Regions from separate parts of the Homo sapiens genome. Here regions 1, 3 and 4 are each linked to region 2. Evidence: promoter capture Hi-C in human tissues and cell types (Jung and others, 2019). All regions are on one chromosome and are shown on one strand. Each heading gives the region's core, a stretch centred on a gene start or on the middle of the fragment in contact. The rest is flanking DNA. Distances are from core to core; before and after follow the strand shown. Region 1 has its middle 42 kb from the start of TNRC6B-DT. Region 2 holds the start of APOBEC3B (apolipoprotein B mRNA editing enzyme catalytic subunit 3B). Region 3 overlaps FAM83F (family with sequence similarity 83 member F). Region 4 has its middle 12 kb from the start of TNRC6B-DT.

Region 1 (7,317 bases), core at 3,914-6,413, 1.1 Mb after region 2:
TTTTGGGGGGAAGTCAAGAGTTAAAATTTGATTATATTAAGTCCGAGATGCTTTGGGGCACCCAAGTGGGAATATCAAGTTAAGTAATTGAATACAGGAGAACTGGAGTTCCAAGGAAAGTTCCCAACTACAGATATAAATATGAAGGTTTTCATTATAAAGACAATAATAAAAGCCATGAGAATGGAGAATATTGTTTAAGGAGAAAGTAAAGAGAAGGGGGTTTGATATTAAGTTCTGAATTACTATTAGCATTTAAGGATAGAATCAGAGGAGGATGAAGGAGAGAAGAGGAGTCAAAGACATAGAAGGAAAGCCAGGAGAGTGTGGTGCCCTAGAAGCTGCTGTATCCCTCACCAATCCCAGGACAGTGACTGGCCAGGACAGTGTTCAGTAATTATTGGTTGAATGAAATCAAAAGGAGATCATTTTAAAAAAGAGGGAATAATTAACTGAATTGAGTGCTGCTGAAAGGGTTACATGAACTATTCATTGGATTGGCAGCATGGATATTGCTGATGATAGGGGCAGAAGTCATGTCGGAATGGTTTTAACAGAGCTTGCGTAGGAGGTGAGAAAGTATGAGAAAGATAGCAGGTTCTTAATTCTGATGAAGTTTGGCTGTGAAGGGAGCAGAAAAATGGAGTATTAGCTGAAGAGTGATACAGAGTCAAAGAATAATTTTTGTTTATCTTTTTAAGATGGGACATACTAGAACATGTATGCACGTGGGGGTGATCCAGGAAACAGTGAGTGAAGGTTGGTGGAGGAAAAAGGGGAGAATTGCAAGATTGGAGTTTATGAGTAAGAGAGAGGGGATGGGATCAGGAGCATAAGTATTCTTAGAAAGGAGGAGGGCCACTTCTGTTGAAATAGGGGAAAGAGGGGAAAATTGATGCAGATTCAGGTAGGTTTATACAACTGGTCGTGAGATAGCAGATCGTTGTATTATGGTATTTTTGTTCTCAATGAAGAGTCATTGACATTAGCTTAAAAGGCAGGGAAGGGTTGGGGAGGAGGGGAAAATAAGTAAGAAATAGCCTTCTTGCAGAGGGGAGAGTAGGAGAGCCAGCCTGCTAAAGAGATCTAGTTAGACTGCCAATTTAAATTGAGTGCCCATTTGCCTGACCTTTAATTTATGGTAAACCTGCCAAGTTAAATGCTTTTTCATCAGTATTCTTGGCATGGAGAAGGGAGTTGCTTGAGTTCTGGGATTGTGGAGTTTGAGAGAAGGAGACCTTGGAAGCGAATTGAAGGTTCTTGCAAGTAAGTGATTATAATGATTAACTATGTAATCTAAGCTAAAGAGAAAAATTAAGTCAGGAGAAGGAAAATGGGGTCAAGGGGTAGAAGGACCCATGGCAGTTGAAAAGTTGTTTGCATGGGACGCTTGAGCCAGTGAGCTAAAATAATCACACCGTGAATTGAATTTGGTGACACAAGATGAGCTGAGTTTGATGATGGTAGAGTGTGAGTGAGGCAGATTGAAGGACAAGGTCCTTCGAGCTGAGCAGTTTCCACAACTGCAAGGCCAGGGTGTTGGGCTAGGTTATGCATTTGAAGGTTAAAGGTATGTTAACCGTAGTGACTAATTGTGCCAGAGAGTTTAACACTGAGCCAGATGTGCTCAAATGTCAGACGGTGATAAGTGTTCTGCCAAAAAAATTGAGTTCTGGGACAGAAAGAGGATAGATGGCCTTTTAGACTTGGTGGCCTCTCTGAGGAGGTGCTATTTATGCTCAGATCTGGATGATAAAATGATGAGTGGAGAGAATTAATCCAGTCTGAGGGAGCAGTTAATATAAAGGCTCTGAAATAGGTACAAATCCCTCACCTTTGAGGAGAAGGAGGAGGCTAGGAAGGCTGGAGTTTATTGGGCTGAGAAAGGGTGGGATGAAATGAGGTTAGAGTGCAGTAGGAGTCAGATGACGAAGGGTTTTGAAAGTCATGCTCAGGAGTTTGGTGCATGTATGTTAATTCTAAGTGCCTTGGTGTGCTAGCCAGCCTCCAAGATGGCCCAGTGGTCCTTGCCTCCTGGTATCATGCCTTTGTGTAGTCCCCTCTCCTGCTGAACAGGGCTAACCTGTGTAACCACTGGAATATCGTGGCAAGGATGGTTTGTGATTTCTGTTGTTAGGTCATTGCAACTTCTGCCTCCCTCTTGTAGAGCACTTGCTCTGAGGGAAGTCAGACTGCTGTGTTGTGAGGACATTTCAATAGCCTGTGGAAAGGCTCACATGGAGAGGAACTCCAGCTAACAGCTACCATGTGAGCACTTTGTTTTGGAAGAAGATCTTCCAGCCTCAGACAAACCTTCAGGTGACTGCAGCCCCTCACACGTACATATTTCATTCATAAATATCCTGTGCGTCTCTCTAAAAGGCAAGGACTTTTTTAAAAAAAACTTAAGCCTTATACAATTGTCACATCTAAAAATGTAATTCCTTAATATTACAAAAAATTCAGAGACTTTAAAAATTTGTTTTAGTTGTTAAATTTGGTTTATTTGCATTAGGATCCAAAAAAAGGGACCAACATAGTATCTGGTTAATGTTTCCTAAGCTTCTTTATCTGTAGCTTCCCTCACTCTTCTTCCCCTCAATTTATCTTAAAAAGAAACTTGGTTGTTTGTCCTATAGTTTCTTACATTCTGGATTTTGCTAATTGTGTCCATTCAGAGTGCAAGGAAGAGTGTTCCTTTACCTTGAATTTTATGTAAACTTGTAGTTATATCCAGAGGAGGCTTGATCTAATTCAGATTGGGTTTTTTTGGCAAGAATATTTTATAGGAGGTGGTGTTTACTTCCATCAAGAGGCACATAATAACCAGTTGTTTCATCTAATCTTATTATGATGTTAACAGCTATTGAAGAGCAATACTAAGATATGTTAATTAGGGTTTACAAAATGGTAATATCCTAAGTCATTTGTCTTTGTTTGTTAGCTAGAGAAACTATTTTTGTTGTTGCTGTTGTTGTTGTTGTTGTTGTTGTTGTTGTTGTTGTTGTTGAGACAGGGTCTTGTTCTATTGTCCAGTCTGTAGTGCAGTGGTACAAACATGGCTTATGGCAGCCTAAACCTCCCGGGCTCAGGTGATCCTCCCACCTCAGCCCCTCTAGTAGCTGGTACCACAGGTGCACACCACTATGCCTGGCTAATTTTTACTTTTTTTGTAGAGACGGGGTCTTGCCATGTTGCCCAGGCTGGTCTTGAGCTCCTGGGCTCAAGCAATTCTACTGCCTTGGCCTCCCAGAGTGCTGGGATTACAGGCATGAGCCACCATGCTTGGCCAGAAATAGTCTCTTATCCACTCTGTGGTTAATCTGAGGTATATTCCATTTAGGAAAGGCAGATTAAATGATTGATTCTTTCTCTTTTTTATCAGTTTTCATAATAATAAATTGATTCCCTAGTATCCTCCAAAAGAGACCAGTAAGGTCTTAAAATATACTTATTTCATTATGAACTGATGGATTTCATCATATTTCATAGATGTGAATCCATTGCAATGATTATTTTTTATTGATGCTCAAATGATCCCATCCTTGACTAGTGAGAGGAGCCCCTTCAAGTTGGTTTCTGAAGACTTTTTATAGTGTCCTTCCTTTTGGTATGATGATATGTTTAGGTTCATCTTATGCATCTTCTGTCTCAGCCCTCAGTCATTTCTTCAGGGAGCTCTCGTTCTTTTCAGCAGGAAAGGATATATGGAGGCACATTTGGATGCTTGAACAATGGATGACAGACTTTTTAATAGATACTTATCAGAATATCTGTAGAGTTCAAAAGATGTCTTCTTTCACCTTGAATTTGAATGGAGAGAAATTCAATTTTTTCTTCTATGAAATATGGAGTGTTTTCGTTTGTCGTTAGAGAAAAAGGAAAACAAAGGTTTTAGATAGAAATAAAATGAAGCCTTAACTCCCCTTTAAAATTGATTGTCCTCTCTCTGCCATACTTTGTTCATCATGTCCAGTGAAGAGAGATGCTAATAAGCTTTTCATATTTCCAGCTACATAAAAACCAGGCAGTGTTTAAAGATTATCATTATAGCATTTGTTTGATGTATTTCTTAAGTCTTTTTTTTATCTCCAGGTCCCCCGTCCCTGTAGGCTCCCCTCTCACAGACACAAGCCTTCTTCCTGGCATTTTTAGGAGGGCCTGGTGTTGTGTTTGGAAAATTTTGCTTTATTATATATCCTCAGCTTATACTGCATCAGTAGTGAAAAGCTTAGTTTTGTGTTTGGTGTAAGTAATGTGTTTCTGGATATTTTTATCATAAAAACTCATTATAGATAAGAGATGGAAATATATCATTAGAATGATTGTATATTTAAATTATGAATCAAGTTAGAGGAGAATGGAATATTGCCCCCTTATGGGAAGACTCTGGAATGTAGAAATTTTTTTCAGTATGTAACAACTTGGTCCTGCCTTCTTTCCCAGTGTTCAGGATCTAATTCAGCCATTTTATACATGATATGTTAAGCTTTTCATTAATTCAGTTATTCATTTGACACATACTGAGCACCAGAGTAATACCAGGCATGGTACTAGGAAATGAGAATAAAGAAATAAGAAACACACATGCTAAACTGACCATTTTCTAGTGGGAGAAAGACAATTATATATGTAATTCCAAACACTGGTAAGTGCATTTTAGGAAAAATACAGGGAGCTGTAAGAGTGATTAACTGGGGGGAGCCTGGCTTAGTCTGAGAGGACAGAAAGGCCTTTCTGACAAAGTAACATTTAAGCAAAGATTTAAAGGAAAAGTAGGCATTGGCCAGGTGATCATTGGGTCCAGAGCCTTCAAGCAAAGGGGCTAGCTATGTGTGAAGGTCCTGAGGGAGGAAAGAGCTTGAAGCCTTGGGGGACCTGGGAATGCTAGTGAGGCTGGAGACTGAGAGGGAGGCAGGGAATTAGGAGAGGAGCTGGAGATGTAGGCAGGGCCCTCATCACAGAGGCTGCTGTTGGCCTCCATCTCCGTTACAGATGTACAGCGTTTGGTGACCCAGACTAGAGACCAGACATAATACTTTTCAGGACCTCTTGGTCCTCCTGGGAGATGCTGGGAACTCTGAGTTCAGCTTTTCTCTCCTATTTCTCGAGGGTCCTTTGTTAATAAAGAAATATTTTTAAAATTATTCCTGCTTACCTTGTACTTAAGAGTGAAAGAAACTTTTAATAAACGGAATTATTTTTGGCTAATCTTCAGAAACCTTCACTCCAAGGATGAACTCATAAAAAGTTGTACCTTTAAAAGACTTTCCTATCTCGTCTCATCCTCACAGCGACCTTATAAGGTGGATATTTACTATTTTTCACATCATACAGAAAAGAGACTGAAGCTCTGAAAAATTAGGTAGTTCCTCAAGGCCAGCTAATAGGTGGTGAAGCAGGAACTGGACAGCGGGCCTTCTGACTACAGACCCAGTGGTGTTTGTGCTCTGTTCTTCCACTTACTATGAATGCAAGAGCTTCTACATATTTTGATCTCAGTATCTGCAACTTATTTATTTTGTTTTCTTTGTTGTTGTTGTTGTTTTTGAGACAGAGTCTCACACTGTTGCCCAGGCTGGAGTGCAGTGGTGCAGTCTCAGCTTACTGCAACCTCCGCCTCCTAGATTCCAGCAATTCTCCTGCCTCAGCCTCCTGAGTAGCTGGGATTATAGGCACCTGCCACCATGCCCGGCGGCTACTTTTGTGTGTGTGTGTGTGTGTGTGTGTGTGTGTGTGTGTGTGTGTGTGTTTTAGTAGAGACGGGGCTTCACCATGTTGGTCAGGCTGGTCTCTAACTCCTGACCTCAGGTGATCCACCCACCTTGGCCTCCTGAAGTGCTGGGATTACCTGTGTGAGCCACCTTGCCCAGCCAATTTATATTTTTTTAATGGAAGAATAAATCATACAAGCTTAAAAATTATGAGAGAAGGAGGAAGGAAATAGGGTAGAGGGGACAGGGAGAGAAGCTAGACTGCCTTAAATATGGTTGATAGCTTTTTTAAATGGAAAATGAGAAACAAGTAAACCTAAATTTTAAACCTCACTAATTCGAACTTTACATTCTTAGTGGGTATATGCCCTGAGAGTGAAAAAAGAACTGCAACAAACAGTAGCAACAACAACAAAGTCCTTCAACTGTACTCATGTGGAACATACCAGTGATCTTGTTAGTACTATTTTGAGATTGTTGTTGAGTGTATATTGTCAGAAAAAAACAAATGAGTAATTATGTGGTACTTTATAATTTCCACTGTTTTGAGATCCAGATTCCCAACATGGGTGAAAGGAGATACAAATATAAAATAAAAGAGGTTAAATAAAACCCTGTTAACTTGATTTCTTCATAGACTTTTTTTTTCTTTTTTTTGAGATGAAATCTCACTTTGTCACCCAGGCTGGAGCGCATTGGTGTGATCTTGGCTCACTGCAACCTCCGCCTCCCGTGTTCAAGCGATTCTCTTGCCTCAGCCTCCCCGGTAGCTGGGATTACAGGCACACACTACCACACCCAGCTAATTTTTTTATTTTTAGTAGAGATGGGGCTTCACCATGTTGGCCAGGCTGGTTGTGAACTCCTGACCTCAAATAATCCACCCGCCTCAGCCTCCTAAATTGCTGGGATTACAGGCGTGAGCCACTGCGCCCAGCGTTAAGACTTTTTTTTTTAATTGGCAGTTTTAGGGTCACAGTAAAATTAAGCAGAAAGTATAGAGTTATCATATTTGCCTGTTCTGTGTCCCTGCCAGCCTCCCGCAGTGTCACATCCCACACCAGAAAGGTCTATTTGTTATAAATGATGAACTTATGTTGGTACACCATTATTACTCAAAGTTCATTTGCATTAGGGTCCGCTCTTGGTGTTGCACATTCTATGGGTTTGGACAAATGTATGATGGCATGTATCCATCATAGAATCATGCAAAGTGGTTTCAGTGCTCTCAATCTTCTCTGCTCCACCTAGTCATCCCTCCATCTCCCTGTCTTCTGGCAACCACTGATCTTTTTACTGTCTCCGTAGATTTTTCTTTTCCAGATGTTATGTAGTTGGAATCACATAGCCTTTTCATGATGGCTTCTTTCACTTGGTAGTATGTATTTTAGGGTTTTTTCACATCTTTTCATGGCTTGATAGCTCATTTCATTTTAGCATGAATAATATTCCATTGCCTGGATGTACTCTAGTTTATCCATTCACCTATTGAAGGCCATCTTAGTTGCTTCCAAGTTTCAGTAAATAAAAATAAAGCGGCTGCAAACACCATGTGTGGGTTTTTGTGTGAACATAAGTTTTCACCTCATTTGACCAAATGTCA
Region 2 (6,323 bases), core at 17-2,516:
CTCTTTCTGACGGCAACAGAAAACTTCACCTTCCAGAGGAGCGCCTCTGCCTGGCTGTCCCACCGTCTGGGAAGTAAGGAGCGCCTCTGCCCAGCCCCCGCACCGTCTGGGAAGTGAGGAGCGCCTCTGGACGGCCCCCGCACCGTCTGGGAAGTGAGGAGCGCTTCTGGACGGCTCCCAGCAACCCCCCAGGTGTGAAGTGACAGCCCTGTGTGTGATCTTTCTGCCCTCCCCAAGTTTGCATTTTCGACAATAAAATTTACTTTTAAATTAAAAGATTTATACTGGGGAAGATTTAAAAAAAAAAAAAGAAAGAAAAGAAAACTCACCTTCCAAAAACAACCACTGGGAGTCCGCTTTGTGCAGAGGTTGGACAAGCTTCTGTGCAGGTAGGGGCGCTGCTGCTCCCCCTACCACCCACGCATCCTCCTCCCTGTCTGCATTCCCGTCGTCGTAGCCAGAGGAGTTCAGAGCCTCTACAGAGAGCACAACTTCTCCAGCTGGAACAAACTCCCCTTAAAGGAATCTATTTAGGAAGATTATTTCAATGTACATTCATTCCTCCAAAATATGCTTAGATGGACTTAAATAATCAGAAAGCTGTGTGTGTATGTGTTTCCCGTTTTCTTGGCCCACAAAGAACCCCTTGAGAGGTCCCTGGGCAGTGAGCCTGTTTATAGACACCCTTCTCCCTTCCTTGGTGTCGCAGACATCGCAGTCCCTCTGAGGGGCTGACCTGCCCCCCACCTTCTGGAAGCTGGGAGGTTGGAAGAGGGGACGCATGCCATGGACCCAGCACACAGCTGGGAACTCGAGGCACACCTAAGCCTTCCCTTGTGCTGTGCGGAGTCCACACTTCCTTCCCCACTGGAGTCTCAAAACCTCCCCTCACTCAACAGGGTGGTGCTGCTCAAAGCTCTGGGCACACATTAGGGCTGGGGAGGGGGTGGTGGAGAGGGGGCTCCAGCCTGCCCAACCACCAGGCAACGGGGCACCTGCCCCTCTCTCAGCTGGGTCTGGACCCGCCTCCCAGGCTCAGGCTGCAATGCCTTTCTCTTTCTCTTTGCAATTCCGTTGGGTCCTGCCCAGGACAGATAAAGACAGAGCAGCCTGTCTTTATTGGAGGTTCCTCTGCCAGCGGGAAGGGTCCGGGGAAAACCAGAGCCAGAGCCAGAGCCAGAGAAACATGAAGCACCCCGGGGCCTCCCACACCAATGCCTGAGCAGGAATGGGGAGGGGCCATGACTCATAAGGCCCTGGGAGGTCACTTTAAGGAGGGCTGTCCAACTGCAAGGACGCTGTAAGCAGGAAGTGAAACCACAGAGCTTCAAAAAAAGAGCGGGACAGGGACAAGCGTATCTAAGAGGCTGAACATGAATCCACAGATCAGGTACCGCTGCCCACTCTGCCTGCTGGGCCCCTCCTGCCCCTTCCTGCCTGGTGGTCCTGCTGGGCCTCAACCCTGGCCTCCCCCCGCCCCTGCCCCAGCCCTGGGCTCCCTCCCCTCTGGCTCCCCTGCCACACGAATCCCAGTCAGGCTCTTTGTCCTGCTGTGTGGTCACCCCACTGCTGCTTCTGAATGGGCTGCCTCCCCTACCTGCACCAGCCCAGGCCCCGTGCTGAGACTCTCCCTTAAAGTCATGCCCGGACTGGTGCTCCCCGCCCTGGGAGGGTGCTCCCTCTGTGTGCTTCCTGCCACTCCTGAGCTCAGAAACTGGGAGAATTGAACCAAAGGGTAATTGGAGCAATCAGGCATTTTTGTTCTCAGTGTTTTGATGAAATTTCTGTAAGAATTACTTTGCTTAAATACAAAGTCTTAGGAGAGGGTGCGGGGGTAGGAATGGTCTCTGAAGCACATGATAAATCGTGTCATCCAAGGATGACTCCATGGTGAGCAGATGTCCCCAGACAGGTTCCACTCCAAGGTCACTCTTCATCTTTTAGAACATGACCAGTGGTTGAGCGTGGTGGCTCACACTTGTAATCCCAACACTTTGGGAGGCCAAGGCGGGCGGATCATGAGGTCGGGAGTTTGAGACCAACCTGGCCCATATGGTGAAACCCCGTCTCTACTAAAAAACATACAAAAATTAGCCAGGCATGGTGGCGCATCTCTAGTCCCAGATACTCAGGAGGTTTAGGCAGGAGAATTGCTTGAACCTGGGAGGTGGAGGTTGCAGTGAGCTGAGATCATGCCACTGCACTCCAGCCTGGGCGACAGAGTGAGACTTCATCAAAAAAAAAAAGAAAGAACATGATCAGTAACATGGAATGTGAGAATGTGGGAAAAAAGTGCAATGATGAGGAGAAATGCTCTGATTTTAAAATTTAGTGAAAAGAGAGCCCAGTCCCCAACAGCTTTCTCCTACAGGATCCGTGATGCAGAGGCTGGACAGGGCTGGCCTGGAAAGGGGCCCCTGCTCCATCCGTCCCCAGCTCTGTGGCCTCGGCAGGTTACCCCGCCTCTCTGTGCCTCTGGCATCTCCTCTGTAAGATGGGAATGGCCCCTGCAGGCCTAGGGTAGCCTCACGTGAGCTCACACCCGCTCAGCACTTAGAAGAGTGGCCTGGGCCTCAGAATTCAGTTCTACCATGATTTTAAAATAATGTTAACACGCAGAGTGAAACATCAGGAAGGAATTGAGCTGAAAGGTTAAAAGCTATTTTTTAGGGGTGAAGGGTTTTATTCTCTTTTGCATTCTCCTAATGGGTTGGGGAGTGGGTTGGCAGAAATACTAGGAGGGTGGGGAATGTACCCCTGGAAAGGCCAGAGTTGGACCCGAGCTGGGAGAGATCACCCCAGCCCGCCTGCCAGCATCCCCTCCTCTTCCTCTCCCCTCAGTCTTCCTGCCTGGGAAGGCAGCAGAAATTCTCAGGGCTGTGGAGGGGTCGGGGAGGCCCAGGGCCATCCTGGGAGCTGTGTTCAGTGGACATGAGCCCCGAGGACTCCCGGGAGGGCTCCCTGCATGGGCCGGTTTCTCTCTTGTGCCTTCAGAAATCCGATGGAGCGGATGTATCGAGACACATTCTACGACAACTTTGAAAACGAACCCATCCTCTATGGTCGGAGCTACACTTGGCTGTGCTATGAAGTGAAAATAAAGAGGGGCCGCTCAAATCTCCTTTGGGACACAGGGGTCTTTCGAGGCCAGGTACCACCCAAACTTCAATCGAATCACAGGCAGTGTTGCAGGAATTAGAGGACTGGAGAGACTGATATGGGTGAGACAGGAGGATTTATTTAGGTGCACTGGTTCAGCAGACTCACATCCAAAAAGGCTGAGCCCTTAACAAAGACAGACTGAGGTATTTATAAGCAAACTTACAGAAGCAGAACAAAGGCGATTAATCAAACAGTGACAGGTCACATAATCTATAGCATAACAGATGACTTAGCATAACTTGGGGCCTTCTATAGCTGGTGGCCTTGCAGCTACATCAAAAGGAAAACAGGAACTGGCTAAATACAGACATTTGTAAAATATAGTTATAATGGTTCTGGAAAGGAGAGACAGTAAAGGAATTTGTCTTTTTTTTAAAAAATTTTTTTAAAATTTTCTTCAACCTTGCCCTGGAGGGGTGTGGGGGTGGTGTCTGGAGCCCATTCCTTTGGCCTTGACTTTTCAGGCAGTGTTATAACTGTCGTTGGAGTGAGCTGGCTAGGCAGAGGAAAACTTGTTCTTCTTTTCTTTTTAACCCTTGCTACAGTAGGACCTAAGCAGCTGGAAATGCAGAAAACACAACAATAAGTAAAATGCCCAGCACTGGGCTCTCAATTGTGTATTTTTCCCACATTTCTTTTTTCTCTTTTTTTCCTTTTTTTTTTTTTTTTTTTTTTCCGAGATGGAGTCTCGCTCTGGCACCCAGGTTGGAGTGCAATTGCACAATCTTGGCTCACTACAACCTCCACCTCTCAGGTTCAAGTGATTCTTCGGCCTTAGCCTCCCGAATAGCTGGGATTACAGAAGGCTGCCACCACGCCCAGTTAATTTTTTCTATTTTTAGTTGAGACTGGGTTTCACCATGTTGGCCAGGCTGGGGAATTCCTGACCTCAGGTGAGTCACCTGCCTTGGCCTCCCAAAGTGCTGGGGTTACAAGCATGAGTCACCGCACCTGGCCACTTCCCACAGTTCTGTTTTTTTGTTTTGTTTTGTTTTGGTTTTTTTTTAAGACTGAGTTTCACTCTTTGTTGCCTGGGCTGGAGTGCAATGACTCACTCTCAACTTCCACCTGCCAGGTTCAAGTGATTCTCCTGCCTCAGCCTGTGAGCTGAACAGTCACATGAGGGTGAAGGTTGTTGCCACAAGCTCAGGGGATGCTCCAGACAGAGTGGCCTGGGATGTCGAGTCACAGCTGCTCCATGCCACGGGGACAAGAGGAAGCAGGAGTTTAGTCTGACACACTGCCCTTCCAGATAGAGGGCAAGAGACAGAAAGAGGGGCTGAAGTCACCCTTGAATAACCACAGCAGTGGCACCCACAAAGGTGCAGTCCCCACAGCCTCATAGCCTCTTCTAGGTGCCACCTCTTAAGGCCATTACAATAGCCATTAACACTGAACGTGAGCTTTGGAGCAGACAATCACTCAAACTAAACAGGGGGGATGGAGGAAAGGAGCTTCAATGGCAAGATCCCCTGGGCTCCTGTCCTGGCCCCTCCTCTCCCTGCCCCACCCCTGCACTCCTCCTGCTCCCCCTCTCAGAGCATCCCCTGCCCCCTGCTCCTCTCCCAGGTGTATTTCAAGCCTCAGTACCACGCAGAAATGTGCTTCCTCTCTTGGTTCTGTGGCAACCAGCTGCCTGCTTACAAGTGTTTCCAGATCACCTGGTTTGTATCCTGGACCCCCTGCCCGGACTGTGTGGCGAAGCTGGCCGAATTCCTGTCTGAGCACCCCAATGTCACCCTGACCATCTCTGCCGCCCGCCTCTACTACTACTGGGAAAGAGATTACCGAAGGGCGCTCTGCAGGCTGAGTCAGGCAGGAGCCCGCGTGACGATCATGGACTATGAAGGTGAGAGGTGGAGGGGTCAGGGGAGCGTGAGCGGGAGGAACAGCATGAAAGATGGATGGATCTGCAATGCCATGGCTGGGGGTGTCCCAGGGCAGCCTGCAGGGGTGGGACTGGCACTGACTGCAACTGACAGCCAGGAGACCAGGCCTGGGAGGACAGGCCAGGGTCAGGGGAGAGCCTGACTGCTTCCCGCTTCTTCATCTCAGAATTTGCATACTGCTGGGAAAACTTTGTGTACAATGAAGGTCAGCAATTCATGCCTTGGTACAAATTCGATGAAAATTATGCATTCCTGCACCGCACGCTAAAGGAGATTCTCAGGTGAGGGTCTCCCTCTGGCCTCATCATCTCTCTCCTCTCACCTGCTCATCCTCCTGAGGCCTCCGTTGGCCTGGCCCTCCCGCCCTCCCTCTTGACCCACTGCCTGCCCTCATGGTCACACCACCTTCCCTTAACTCCTGGTGCTCCCTCCACACTGCCTCCTCCCTGCTTTCCTGGGCCCTTCCTGTGAGTAAGAGGCCCCTTCTGCCTCTAAGGCACCTGGGTCTTGGACTAGAGGAACAAACAGCAAGACAGGGTGGCCTGGGACACCAGCCGCTGCCCTTCTGTGACATGGGGACAAGAGGAGGCAAGAGCTCAGCCTTCCAGGGAACAACTCTGGGCAGGAGATGTGGAAGGAAGGAGCTCAGTGTGGGGGCACCCATGGCATCCTGGGGGGACATCTGAGGGCCACCCCCACCCGCTATTCCTCCCTCCAATGGTGGCCTCTGAGTGTGAAGGCATGGGGGAAGGCAGACACCTGCCCCTGACTCTCCCTCACTACCACATAGCTGCTGGGTGGCTGGGGACGGGGGGGGTCCCTGGGATGATTCCTGAGGGCAGGATCCAGGGGTCCCTCCAGATGTCCTCCCATCCAGGTGAGAAAGCAGCATAAAGTGAGGCTTGCACTCAGATGGGCCTGGGAGGTCACTCACAGCGCAGGTGTCTCCTGGAACAAGGGCCCTGGAAGATAGAAATAGAATCCAAACCCAGGACTAACATCAGGGCCAAGACAAGCCTGCCAGGGAGGCTGCACATGAAGCCCCAGATCAGGGACCACTGCCCGCTCTGCCCATGGGGCCTCTGCTGCCCTTTCCTGCCTGGTGGTCCTGCTGGGCCTCAGCCCTGGCCTCCCCCTGTCCCAGCCCCAGCCCTGGGCTCTCTCCCCTCCTGTTCCTCTGCCACCCCCACTCCCAGCCAGGCTCTTTGCCCTGTTGTGTGGTCGCCCCACTGCTGCTTCTGAATGGGCCACCTCCCCCACCTGCCCCAGGCC
Region 3 (6,467 bases), core at 1,364-3,863, 1.0 Mb after region 2:
ATTACAGGTGCCTACCACCATGCTCAGCTAATTTTTGTATTTTTAGTAGAGAAGGGGTTTCACCATGTTGGCCAGGCTGGTCTCGAACTTTTGACCTCAAGTGATCCGCCCGCCTCAGCCTCCCAAAATGCTGAGATTACAGGTGTGAGCCTGGCCTCAGAATTCTGATTTTAAAATAATTTAGCAGGAACACGAGAGACTGTATCTGTGTAATCTCTGCCCTCCAAGTAAATTAAAATATAGGTGACGAGAAGAGAGAGCTGAGCACATGAAACAGTGAATAGCAGGGTAAGTCCTGTCACATGGTCAGAGTATGGGTTTCTGCAGACACTAAGTGCTTAAAAAAATCAGAAAAGAACCAATACAGAGTAGAATAATATTCATAATAGTGGCAGCTGCAGTTACTATTTTTTAAATGTGTGTTTGTGCCAGGGACTGAGCTAAATGTTTTATATGAGTTACTTCATTTGTGCCTCACAACAACCCTGTGAACATATGTCCTGGGAGCCCCAGCTTACAAGGCACATGAGAATATAAACCAGGTTTAAATGCAGGCCTGACTTCCCATGCTCTTTCCCTGCACCCACTGCCTGCTTGCTTCATTTGAGGCCAAGCTCTGGGGAAAGGGAGGCTACGGGTGGGTGGAGGGAATCAGTCCAGCGTGTGGCCCACAAGGAGCCGTACACCTGCAGCAAGGGTCTGGCCACAGCGGAGGGGCAGGTGGGGGCGGGGGCAGGGCAAGAGAGAGGCCTGGGCACATGTGTCTTGCTTTTCTGTCCCCACGTTCCCAGGTTCACCTGGAGTTCCTCCCATGTGGACAGAAACCTCCTCCTGCTCCTGACAGGACAGAACGTAGAGCCCTTTGACACGGAGTTCCGGGAGCTGTACGCCATCTCCGAGGAGGTGGACTTGTACCGGCAGCTGAGCCTGGCGGGCAGGGTTGGCCTCCATTACTCCTCCACTGTGGCTCGAAAGCTTATCAACCCCAAGTACGCCTTGGTGTCAGGCTGCCGCCACCCGCCTGGGGAGATGATGCGCTGGGCTGCCCGGCAACAGCGGGAGGCGGGCGGCAACCCGGAGGGGCAGGAGGAGGGCGCCAGCGGTGGCGAGTCGGCCTGGCGCCTGGAGAGCTTCCTGAAAGACCTGGTTACGGTGGAGCAGGTGCTGCCCCCCGTGGAGCCCATCCCCTTGGGAGAGCTGAGCCAGAAGGATGGCAGGATGGTCTCTCACATGCACAGAGACCTGAAGCCCAAATCCCGAGAGGCACCCAGCCGAAACGGCATGGGAGAAGCGGCCCGGGGGGAGGCCGCCCCCGCCAGGCGCTTCAGCAGCAGGCTCTTCAGTCGCCGAGCCAAGAGGCCTGCGGCGCCCAATGGCATGGCCAGCTCTGTCTCCACCGAGACCTCTGAAGTGGAGTTTCTGACGGGGAAGAGGCCCAACGAGAATTCCAGTGCTGACATCTCAGGTGAGCCCTCTTCCCTCTGGCCTGGTGCCTCCCCAGGCCTCTGGCCCTCGCCCCGCATCGGCTCTTATCCAGGAGCACTGCCTCATACCTGCAGAGGAGTAGATTCCATCTGTGGGCACAGAGAGGGCAGGAGCTCTGGGGTTCCGGGGTCCTTGGTTCCCATTCTGGCCCCGGCCATTAGCTGCCTGGAGGCCTTGGGCAAGTCCTGCAGCTCTGAGTTTCATTTTCCTCTTCTCTGAAAAAAGAGAAGGATTCCAGGCTTGGCATGGAGGGGTCTCAGAGCTTCTAATGCTACTGCTAGAAGGCATTCAGATCAGCCCTCATGGTAACCCAACAAATCAAATAAGCTGAGAAACTTTCTCCTTTGTAAGTGAAGAAACGGGGGCTCTGCACAGTGGGGTGCATGGCTGCAGCTCGACCCTGGCTCTGAGTTGAGGGCTCTTTCTAGCAAACCTTTTCCCTTGCCAGATCACCTATTGTCAGGATCTCACCTGGTTAGACACACCCCACCCTCCCCTGTACCCTACTGGTGCCCTGACCCAGTTTCCTGTCTCTGTGACGGGCAGTCCGACTTGGTTTCTCCACGTCCCTCTGCTGAGTGCTGTCTGCCCAGCTGCTTGTCCCTGGGTGGGATTGTTCCATGGCAGCGTCTTTCTGGGCATCTCTCTGGGATCCCCAGGAGGCCCTGGACTTTATGTCTCTCTCTGCAGCAGTCTCTGGGGTGGCCTTTCAGGTGGCTGGTGGCGGTGCCTTTCTCATCTCTGCATCCCTGAGTCAGGGGACTTTCCATGGTGGGGTTTCTCCCTCCATCGCTGTGGAGCCCAGTGATGAGAACTGGGCTCTGGCTGGCCAGGTGGGCGATGGCAGGGCCTGAGGTCTTGTGTGCCCGGCCCAAGGGCTTCCAGGACTCCTGCATTCCTGCACACCAGCTTTAACCGGATTGTGATGGTGTGAGAGCAGGGAGCACAAGTGTCATCCCCTCTGCTAATTCCCCAGCACTGCTTTGGAGTCTGACACATTCTGTGCTCAGGAAATGTTGGCTAACTTTGCTTCTTGGAGTTGGAACAGGCCTGGGCGCCTCTGTGGCTGTGGGCACAGTGGGAGTGTCAGGGCGTTCCTTCTGTTTGGCCTGGAGACGTTGACTGAGCTGCTGGCTTGCCAGGTCCTGCACAGGCACTCTCTCTCCCCTTCTGCCCCCACAACCACCCTTCAAGCACAGAGGTGGCAGATGGCTCGGAGAGGTGAATGAAGTGGTCCCAGGTCACAGGAAGTGGTAGTAAGGCCAGGATTCAAGACCAGGCATGGGCACAGCCATGTTCTGTCAGGGGAGGGGTGGCTGGCCCCATCCCCATTCCTCCTGGGCTCCCTGGCTCCCCTAACACCAGCTGCTGCTGCTGCTGCTGCTCCTGCTCTGTACCTCTGGTTTGGAGGAAGGGTTGCCATGGTGAACACCTGGCAAGGGAGCGAGGGGAAGAGGGGAAGGAGGTGGAAGAGGGGAAGGAGGGGGCGAGCCGACAGCAGCAAGGACTATTTCCCGAGTCCTGACTGAAGTGGAGTGGAAGCTTTCTCTTCCTTCAGCCCCTCGCCCTGAGATGCAGTTTCCATGGAAACTCAAAGCCCATTGTCTTGTCCCTTCCCGCTGCCTTCTGCGTGTCCCTCCACATCCATGTCCCTGCTCCCACATCTCGGGTGGTCACGGCGGCCCTGCCCCTGCTGCCGCTCTCTGGTGTCTGCACATGGTGCCCAGGAGCCAGCCTTGCAGACACAGACGGTACCCTTGGGAAGCTCCTCTCCAGGGCACCTGATGCTGGGATAGAGAGAGAGAGGGAATAGTGAGGGCGAGGGCACGGACAGCCAGGAAGGTCCGGGGATGCCCGGAACCATCATCCCGTTCCTTGTCCGTCCTTTAGACGAACACAGAGCAGCCTCCTCCGGTAAGGCTTCTGCCCACCTGGGTGGGCGCCCAGTACCTGCAGTCCTGAAATTCACGCACCTTTCCTCTCCCTCCCAAGGCCTGAGGGAGAAGCAGCAGCTCCTCTCCTGTCTTTTGCTGGTTTTGTTTGTTTTTAAGACAATGTCTCGCTGGAGTGCAGTGGTGCGACCACAGCTCATTGCAACCTCAACCTCCTCGGTTCAAGCGATTCTCCCACCTCAGCCTCCTGAGTAGCTGGGCTCACAGGTGTGTGCCACCATGCCTGGCTAATTTTTTAAATTGTTTGTATAGACAGGGTCTCATCATGTTGCCCAGGCTGGTCTCCTGGCCTCAAGTGATCCTCCTACCTCTGGGCCTCCCAAAGCGCTGGGATTATAGGCACAAGCCACCGCGCCTGGCCAGGAGCTCCTCTCCTAAGAGGCCCTTTTTCACGGCCTCCAGCTTCCCACACCATGGCCAAGTGGGGCTGCTTCAGTGTCTCCCCTCAGGCAGCAGCAGCTAAGCAGCCAGGACTGCATGTGTGAGAAGGTGGGCCCCTGACAGCATGGGGCACCCACCGTGGGAATCAGTGAGAACCTGAGCTCCTGCCTTTGGGCCCCCATGCAGGGAAAGTGTCCCCTTCCCCTGGTAAATGTTCAGAACCTCCCAGAGCAGCTGCCACCTGGCTCTCAATTCGGGACACATTGCTCCCTGTACCCAGGACACATCCGTCCCCTCCCTGGGGCTGTGTTCTCATCTAGAAGGTGGGGGAGTGCACCATTGAGGGTTTCCGAGGTCCCCTGGAGTTCAGATTCTGCCTCTGTTCTTTCTGTCTCTGCTGCCCTCTTGTCAAGGGAGAACCTGAGTTGATGACAGTTTCTGTCATAAGAGAAAAAATAGAAAAAGCTCAGAGCTGACAGCCTGTAAAATTGCTTGATAAGGAGTATATAGTTGTCAAACAGCATGCAAATTTTTGCAAACCCAGGTGTGGCCCTTGGGAGAACCTTAGGGAAGTTGCTTCCTCCTTTCCGGCTGGGGATCCAGCTGGGGGCCAGGGGTGCCCAGCGGTTTCAAGGCTCACGGCGCACTCTAGTGGCAGAAGCTAGGCGCCTCTTCTACGTCTTCCCTCCGCCCTCGCCTCCTGCTGGGAGTGTTCATCCCTTATTCTGGAGCTTCTGTGCCCTCCGCACAGGCTCCCTGGGTCAGGGACCCCCAAACTCACAGAGCAGCCTCAGTGGAGAGCCTTGGTAAACATGCAACGAGGCCAGGCGCGGTGGCTCATGCCTGTAATCCCAGTGCTTTGGGAGGCTGAGCTGGGAAGATCCCTTGAGCCCAGGAGTTCCAGACTAGCCTGGGCAACATAGCAAGTCCCCATCTCTTAAAAAAAAATTTAATTAGCTGGGGGTAGTGCCGTGTGCCTGTAGTCCCAGCTACTTGGGAGGTGGAGGCAGGAGGATCACTTGAGCCTGGGAAGTCGAGGCTGCAGTCAGCTGTGATTGTGCCACTGCACTCCAGTCTGGACGACAGAGAGACCCTGTCTCAAAAAAATAAAAGCAAAAGTAAATACAAATTTTAAAATGCAACAAATACGCTTGGAGAGGCCGAGGCAGGTGGATCACCTGAGGTCAGGAGTTCGAGACCAGCCTGGCCAACATGGTGAAACCCTGTCTCTACTGAAAATACAAAAATTAGCTGGGCATGGTGGGAGGTGCCTATAATCCCAGCTACTTGGGAGGCTGAAGCAGGAGAATCACTTGAACCCAGGAGGCAGAGGCTGCAGTGAGCTGAGATCACACCAGCCTGGGTGACAGAGCGAGACTCCATCTCAAAATAATAATAATAGAATTTTTAAAGATAAAAATAAAATCCAACAAATAGAGTCTGTACCACTGGGCAGGGCTTAGGAATCTGCATTTTAAATTAGGGCCCTCATTTTCCAGTGTAGCTCCCCAGTGCAGAGGGTCCTCAGACCAGCCGACTCCGTGGCGACTGAGGAAACACAGATGAGGCCCTGCCCTTTGAGTGCTGCCAGCCTAGGGGAGGAGATCCCTGTGCTGTGCCTGAGACCCCACCCAGTTCCCCCAGGGAGATGACTGGGAAATGGCCAACACTTTTGAAGTGGCGAGAGACATGGTGCCATACTCCATCACATGGAACTGGCGTCCTCCTCGCTGCCATCCTGCCTGATGACAGCATCTCACAATGAGACCCCCAAGGTTCAGAGAGGCCAGGCCCTGTGTCCGTGGCTGCCCAGGGAGAAAGGGCAGTGTGATCTCCTGCCTCCCCAGCCTTCTGCAGATATCATGGCCATCTCCAGAAGGCTAGGATCGGCACCGTTTCCCTGCACCTTTAAAGACTGTTTGGGCCCGGCGTGGTGGCTCATGCCTGTAATCCCAGCACTTTTGGAGGCCTAGGTGGGCAGATCATGAGGTCAGGAGATCGAGATCATCCTGGCTAACACGGTGAAATCCTGTCTCTACTAAAAATACAAAAAATTAGCCAGGCATGGTGGCACTTGCCTGTAGTCCCAGCTACTCGGGAGGCTGAAACAGGAGAATCTCTTGAACCCGGGAGGTGGAGGTTGCAGTGAGTGGAGATCACACCACTGCACTCCAGCCTGGGTGACACAGTAGGAATCTGTCTCAAAAAACAAAACAAAACAAAACAAAAAACTGTTCGGAAGAACCAGAGCCCCAAATAGAGGACCAGCCCTTTCCCACGGTGTTGTGGGGGCCGAGAGGAAGATGACAGCAGCAACTTGCTTCCCAGAGTGCCTCGGGGTCCTTTCCTGCCCCAGAGTCCCTGGGCCTGTGCTTTGCTTCCCAGTTTCTCTGAGGTGACCTGCAGTGACAGTCCCTTTCCAGAACTCTCCTGGGGTCCCTGGATTTATGTGTGGTTGGCCCCCTGGCTGGCAGTGTGGTCTGGCTCTGTAGAGCTGTGGCTGCTGGGCCGCTGGATTGGGGGACTTGTTCTCCTGTGTCATCCCTTGGGGCCGCAGGTCTCAGATCTCTCTCTTGCTCTTGCTGCGTCTGGGGCATCTGCTGCTGTTATTACTGTTGTTACTAGGATTGTGCTAAACCCCTAAGTAGC
Region 4 (6,591 bases), core at 1,813-4,312, 1.1 Mb after region 2:
TTTATTCTTTTTATGTGCTATGCTTTGTCTTTCTAGTTAGAAACTGAAATGTAAGTCCTTTGAGTACAGAGATCATGAATTACGAAGGTGTATATGGTATATTTGCTTGGTTGTCTTCATGGGAGCATTTCACCATCCTCTGAATGTCGATTTGTGCTTTCTTTTTCCCCCAAACCACCTTATTGAGGTATGACTGACATACTAAAAGCTTTAGGTATTTAACATATACCACTCGATGTGTTTGGAGATTTTCTTTAAAAAAAAAAAAAAAAAACTATGTTTAGATATTGTTATGGATTTTCAGGTTGGGTCATTAATGAAGTTTGACAGTTTTAATAAGACTGACTTTCTTTGTGGTTTATAAACAGGCTCCGAAAGCAGCTTCAAAAGTAGAGCTCCAAAATAGTTCCATAATTATTGTAATTAATGCAAGTCTTCCAGAATTCGGGCAGAGTTGGAGAGTCTCTGAATTAGGAGTCAAAAGTCCTGGATTCATTTGTATTGCTGACATTTGCTTGAGTGCATACTGGGTGCCAAGCGCAGGAATGACTGAAAATTCAAAAACTACAGTATGGAAAAAAAAATACCCCTTTAACACACAGGTGAAATGGTTAATTCTTCCTAGGAAGATTGAATTTCTCTCTGTTCTCTTAGACTTTACTCATTTCTGACATAGACTACATTATATCATGTTTCTTAATCTGTCTCTCCTGCTGGATTGCAAATTTCTTAAGTGAGACTATTGTAGTCATCTTTGCATCCCTAGGCACATACTGTACTGTGTCTGTCATATCGTAGACACTCAAATGTTTGTTAAATAAATAACTTGAAGTAAGTTACTTAGCTTTGCAGAGTCTTAGTTTTTTCTTTTGCAAGTAGGAACTTCTCTACTTCAGAGAATTGTTGAAACTGTAGTGAGAATAATCTTTTAAAACTACAGATGTGTTCTGTGTATATCTTAATTTAAAACATTTACTTAAAAAGCAAGTGTAAATCTGATCATATTTCTCCCCTACTTAAAACTGTTAATAACTGGGTGCACAGGCTCGTGCCTGTAATCCCAGCACTTTGGGAAGCTGAGGTGGGTGAATATCTTGAGCTCAGGAGGTCAAGACCAGCCTGGGCAACATAGCAAAACCCTGTCTCTGCAAAAAATACAAAAATTAGCTGGGCGTGGTGGTGCCTGCCTGTAGTCCCAGCTACTCAGGAGGCTGAGGTGGGAGGCTAGCTTGAGCCTGGAGGCAGAGGTTGCAGTCAGCCGAGATTGCGCCACCACACTCCAGTGTGGGTGACAGAGTGAGACCCTGTCTCAAAAACAAAACTGTCAGTGAGGCCTAAAGACCCTGATAAGAACCTGAATTCTTGTTCTTGCCTTTTTCACTGACTGCCCAGTGAAGCTTCTGCCAGCGTCCCCTGCCTCTTTTCCTACTGTCTTCCCCCTTGCTGAGTGTACTCTCACCATACTGACCCTCTTCAAGTTCCGGAAATGTGTGTTCTTCACTACCCAAGGTCCCTTCCTTGAGCATACTATTCTCACAGCTGGAAGCCCGCAGGCCCAACCTTAGTTAATGCCTCTTCAATCCTGAGCTCAGTGTGTGTGTCTCCTCTTTAATGACTTCCTAATCACCCCGCCCCACATTAGAAGATATCAATTGTATAATTATTTAATTTGTATATTATATTTCCCCTTCTGGAAAATAGCTACATGAATAAAAATACTCTGTTTTATTCACATTTGTGTCACCAACATCTAGCACTGTGAGTTGCACATAGTAGGTCCTCAATAAATATTTTTTCAAATGAAGTTAAGAAAGAGAATTTAAAATAGAATTTCTAAAAAACCTCATTTTAGGCAAAGCTTGGTGGCTCATGCATGTAATGCCAGCACTTTGGGAGGCCAAGGCAGGCAGGTCACTTGAGTCCAGGAGTTCGAGACCAGCCTGGGTGACATGGTGAAACCCATCTCTACAAAAAAAAAAAAAATTAGCTGGTTGTAGTAGTGCGCGCCAGTAGTCCCAGCTACTCGGGAGGCTGATACAGGAAGGTTGCTTGAGCCCGGGAGGCAGAGGTTGCAGTGAGCTGAGATTGCACCATTAAGCTCCAGCCTGGGTGACAGAACAAGACTCCGTCTCCAAAAAAAGAAAAGAAATTATGCTTGGGCTTGACATGATGACGCTCTCACTAAACATTTGAATGCATAGACATGCTGAATGCTGTGCTAGGAGCCAGGACTACAGAGGTGGGGCGAAAGGAGATCTTTGTTCCCAAGGAATGCACAGCCAGGTGGGTGAGACAGATGTGGACACAGATGAGTGCCATTTAGTGTAATAAGTGCTGTAATAGACAGTACAAGAGGTGCTGCGGGGATGAAAAGGAAGGTCATCAACACGATGGGGAGGTTGAGAAAGCCTTCCCAGGGAAGGTGACACTCACACTAAGTTGTGGAGGAAAAGGGCATTTCCGGCAGAGAGAACAGCCTGTGTAGAGGCATGGGGGAGCGTTTTTAGTATGTGGAGAAGATGACCGGCACAGCGGTATGCTTTACAAGGCTGGCATTAGGGTACAGGGCTAATAGCTGACTTACAGTTGAACCATGATATGTCAGACTCAGCCTCTTACTCCACTGCAGTTTAGGACAGGAAATGACCTTAGAATAATGATCTGAATCTGTATGTTTGAATTCATAAAGGCATAGAGTACCATTCAGAGAAGATAATCATAAACCACAACGGCACTTGTCACTTCTAGTTAATATACTTGCTTCAGTGGTGTACCTATAACCATGCAAATGATGTTAGGTGGAATTAGAAAGTGGTGACTCATTTAAGCTTATCTGTAGGAGCAGAGAGTGTAAAGGAAGTGACTTCTAGATCACCTGAGGTGAGTGCTGATACCATCTCAAATGGATCAGACACTGAACCAGTGAAAGAGAGGAAATCAGAAAAGAGGACTACCCAGAAGGGCCTCTGGTATATGTTCTGGGAAAGACAGTTCCTACAGCTTGAAGGTCTTTACATATCTCCAAGTCTCCAAGTGGTTCACTGAGCTAACATTAATCTAATTTAATTCTCAACCAGATTTGAAAAAGGGAGATTAATTGGATAAAAATGTAGCCCATTTTCCTTCATTTACTCCTATTTGTTTTCAATGTCTCTTTCCTTTTCTGTCTCCTCCTATCCATTTTTCTCTCCCTGTTACTCTTAAGTAGTGTCTCCTTTCCCCATCCACCCCATCTCTAGCCATCTTCCATTCTATTTCCGCTAAGTTGCTTTCAGTTGCAGGATGTCCATACCTTGTTGGCTAAACTAATGTTTCTCAGCTTTGCATATTCAGAGCTTGATATTTTTCAAATGGGAAGAAGTGATTATGCTCTGGTAGTGCTGATTACACTCACAAGATGTTAATTGACTTACGGTAATGCCGATTTCTGCAAGTTCTGTGTATGTATTTGATCTACATAACAAAGGGCTAAGGAGCTAAGTGATGATAGGGAGAATGGTAGTAATGAATGCAGTTTAGTTTAAGATGTTTGGAAGAGAAAGGACAGAGAAAAATGGAAGCAGGACGAGGTTGAGAAGGCAACACCTTTAAGTAAGATAGAAAATCAGGCTGGGTGCAGTGGCTCATGCCTGTAATCCCAGCACTTTGGGAAGCCAGAGTAAGAGGATCACTTGAGGCCAGGAGTTCGAGACCAGCTTGAGCAACATAGTGAGACCCCCATCTCTACAAAAAATGTTTTAAACATCAACTGAGCATGATGGCACATGCCTGTAGTCCTAGCTACTCAAAAGGCTGAGGCAGGAGGATTGCATGAGCCCAGGAGTTGGAGGCTGCGGTGAGCTAGGATTGCATCACTACACTCCAGCCTGAGAGACAGAGTGACACCCTGTCTCAAAAAAAAAAAAAAAAAGAAAGAAAAATCTATAATCTATTAAAAGATATACAGGAAGCACCCAGCGGAGAAAGAAAAATGGAAGTTGCTTGAATAGAGATGGTAGCAGATTTGATGGGGCAAGGCCACCAGATTCCTCCCATGGGCACAGGTAGACTATATTCATTGGAAGTTCCTTGTAGTATCTCAACAGAGTAAGAAGTCGTCATGGGTTCTCATCTTGGATACCTTGAGCTCAAAATGAGTTTATGCTACTTTGTTTTGTCATGGCACCCACTAGAATGGTTTGCACATAGTAGGTGTAAACAGTCGAGATAAAGTCACAGGATTGAAAGATGATACTGATTATACCTTTAAACTTCTTACCAGGTAACACTATCTGTGGTTTATGACAAGGGAACATGTTTATTAATCCTCTTGTGAATAGTACAGTTACATTGAATTTTTTTCCTAAAGGTGTTGATTTATTAAATGTGTACATTGAAAATATGCCAGGTTTTTTTTTTTTTTTTTTGAGACAGAGTTTCGCTCTTGTTGCCCAGGCTGGAGTACAATGGCACCATCTCGGCTCGTCGCAACCTCCGCCTCCTGGGTTCAAGTGATTCTCCTGCCTCAGCCTCCCGAGTAGCTGGGATCACAGGCGTGTGCCACCACGCCCGGCTAATTTTGTATTTTTAGTAGAGACAGGATTTCTCCATGTTGGTCAGGCTGGTCTCAAACTCCTGACCTCAGGTGATCCGCAGCCTCCCAAAGTGCTGGGATTACAGGCGTGAGCCACCCTGCCTGGCCCAGAATTTTCATAATGGTGTTTTGGCATGTCTTTATTTAAAAAAATATATATACATATCTCGAGCCTCAAAAACTGGAAGTGGACCAGGCTTTCTAACCTGGAGACCCCCTGGTCAGCATATCAAGAGAAATGTCTTGGGTACTTGCTGGGTACAAGATTCTGATGTGGAGGAAGGCAATCCAAAGTAAAAGATGAAACAGCTGCTCTCTGAGGAGCTAAATGTCTTTCTCCTGTGAAAATCCTGCTGATGGTGTCTCATGCTCAGTAATATCCTTTTCCTGAGGAGAGGTTTTACTCAGATGTTATCTCTGTAGACCTTCTAAATAAAGACTTTCCTGTTAGATGTACCATGGACAACAGATTTTAAGTTAATATTTCACCATCTACTCTTTAGTCAATTTTGTCAACCTTCTTTTTACTATACAAGTTTTATATTTTTACACCAATATGTTTAAAATTTACAGTGTTTTATCTTGCATTTTGGCTCAATTGCCTTAAACAAAAGGCCACAATACTTACTGATTCCAGCTTAAACCATGCAGGTGGGTCTGTGGACTGCTCCAGAAAGAGGAGATCTTTTTATGCCCCATACCCCAGTATGTAGCCAAAAGGCTCAGAGGGGAAAATACTACTTTTACAACACCAAAAAACAAAAACAAAACATAAACGGTAAAAAAGGCTCTTGGTAGAAATCACAAAGAGAAGAAGAATGAATGAAGATGTAAAAGACATCACATTTCAAGCCAGTAAGGGATGGTTTGAAAACTTTAAAAAGGGGGCCCTCTACCTGTCCTCCAAAACTTGTGACTCAATGTGCTTTAGCACAATGTGCTTTAGCACAATGTGACACAATGTGCTTTAGCACATTGTGGCGCCAGCCTGCGCTTCCTGAACTGGCCAGAGCCGGGACTCAACCGATGCAGCACGTTAGCTTTGGAAGCAGACAGTCTCTAGACTGACTGACTGTACTGAAAAATGTGTATTTCATGTCATTTTCTCTTGCTTTGCTTTAACCTCCTATTTTTCAGACCTTGGGCTTATCATTCAGGGTGCTTTTCAGAAAGGTAACTGGAGGCTGGAGAGGGGCCCCTACTTCACCTCCGTCTGGAGAGGCGTGATGCTGTTGGATACCCTGTCGCTGGCAACCCACCTGCCCAGTACTTGAATCTTGAAATTCTGACACATTGAATCTGGAAACATTGCCATATCCTTTAGTTTTTCTTTTCTCTGTGGCTTTGGACTTTGACCTTCTCATTTTTATGTTCATGCCACCATCCTGAATCTAAATCATCCTTGGTCTATTTCTGGGTTATTTAAATAGCTCTCTAGTCAGTTGTCTTGTTTCTAGTTTCTCCCCAGAAAACATTTCCTACGTACTATTTTCTTTTCCTTTCTTTAGCAACCTGTCCTTACTGTGTGAAATCCAAACACCTTTGTTCCAGCCAAGTTCGTTTACTGCTCCCATTTATCAACTGTCATTTCTTTCTTTTGAATCTTTGCGTTCTGTACAATCTTTTCTCTGTTTTCCATATTATTTTCTCTCTTTTTGTCCCCATGCTCTATAAAGGTTTGACTTATGTAAAATTTTCTCCCTGCTTCTGGCTGCCAATTCATTGTCCCCCTTACTCTCAAAAAGCCTTCTCGAAACTTTGTCTTCCTGAAAGCCTTTCTTAAGTAACGCCTCCTTCATTTGGATATAGTTTGTTCTTACTGATATGATTGTGATGATAATGAATTACGTAGACTTTGCTAATTGCATTCATTAGTTCTAATGGCATTTTTATAGATTTCGATGTTTTTTTAAACAAATATATCATTTACAAAGAAAGACAAATTTACTTTCCAGTCTTTGAGTTCTAATTCATACCTTAATGTCCTGGCTAGTACTTCGAGTACCATGCTGAACAGA

The links. The method cuts DNA at HindIII sites, captures the fragments that hold promoters and counts their contacts. A contact is called where the count stands out against the background at its distance.
Region 1: a fragment that was not itself captured here is called in contact with the fragment with the promoter of APOBEC3B in region 2 in 1 of the 25 tissues and cell types used here (dorsolateral prefrontal cortex).
Region 3: a fragment that was not itself captured here is called in contact with the fragment with the promoter of APOBEC3B in region 2 in 1 of the 25 tissues and cell types used here (dorsolateral prefrontal cortex).
Region 4: a fragment that was not itself captured here is called in contact with the fragment with the promoter of APOBEC3B in region 2 in 1 of the 25 tissues and cell types used here (dorsolateral prefrontal cortex).

Annotation. Positions count from the first base shown.
Region 1 is chr22:40,082,880-40,090,196 of GRCh38, forward strand. It overlaps a transcript of TNRC6B not described here. Among named protein-coding and RNA genes, the nearest start is that of TNRC6B-DT, 42 kb to the left of the region's middle. The HindIII fragment of the contact is 3,769 bases long and covers 3,280-7,048 here.
Region 2 is chr22:38,981,081-38,987,403 of GRCh38, forward strand. APOBEC3B (apolipoprotein B mRNA editing enzyme catalytic subunit 3B) reads left to right here and starts at 1,267. Exons shown (of 8, transcript NM_004900.5): 1 at 1,267-1,390; 2 at 2,995-3,151; 3 at 4,732-5,011; 4 at 5,218-5,332. The coding sequence starts at 1,374. RefSeq lists silencers at 1,401-1,450, 5,415-5,610 and enhancers at 3,649-4,848, 3,891-4,180. The HindIII fragment of the contact is 18,696 bases long and covers 1-6,323 here.
Region 3 is chr22:40,020,499-40,026,965 of GRCh38, forward strand. FAM83F (family with sequence similarity 83 member F) reads left to right here. Exons shown (of 5, transcript NM_138435.4): 4 at 792-1,465. Among named protein-coding and RNA genes, the nearest start is that of TNRC6B-DT, 21 kb to the right of the region's middle. RefSeq lists enhancers at 2,182-2,682, 2,683-3,183, 4,602-4,671. The HindIII fragment of the contact is 7,125 bases long and covers 1-6,176 here.
Region 4 is chr22:40,052,905-40,059,495 of GRCh38, forward strand. It overlaps a transcript of TNRC6B not described here. Among named protein-coding and RNA genes, the nearest start is that of TNRC6B-DT, 12 kb to the left of the region's middle. The HindIII fragment of the contact is 4,520 bases long and covers 803-5,322 here.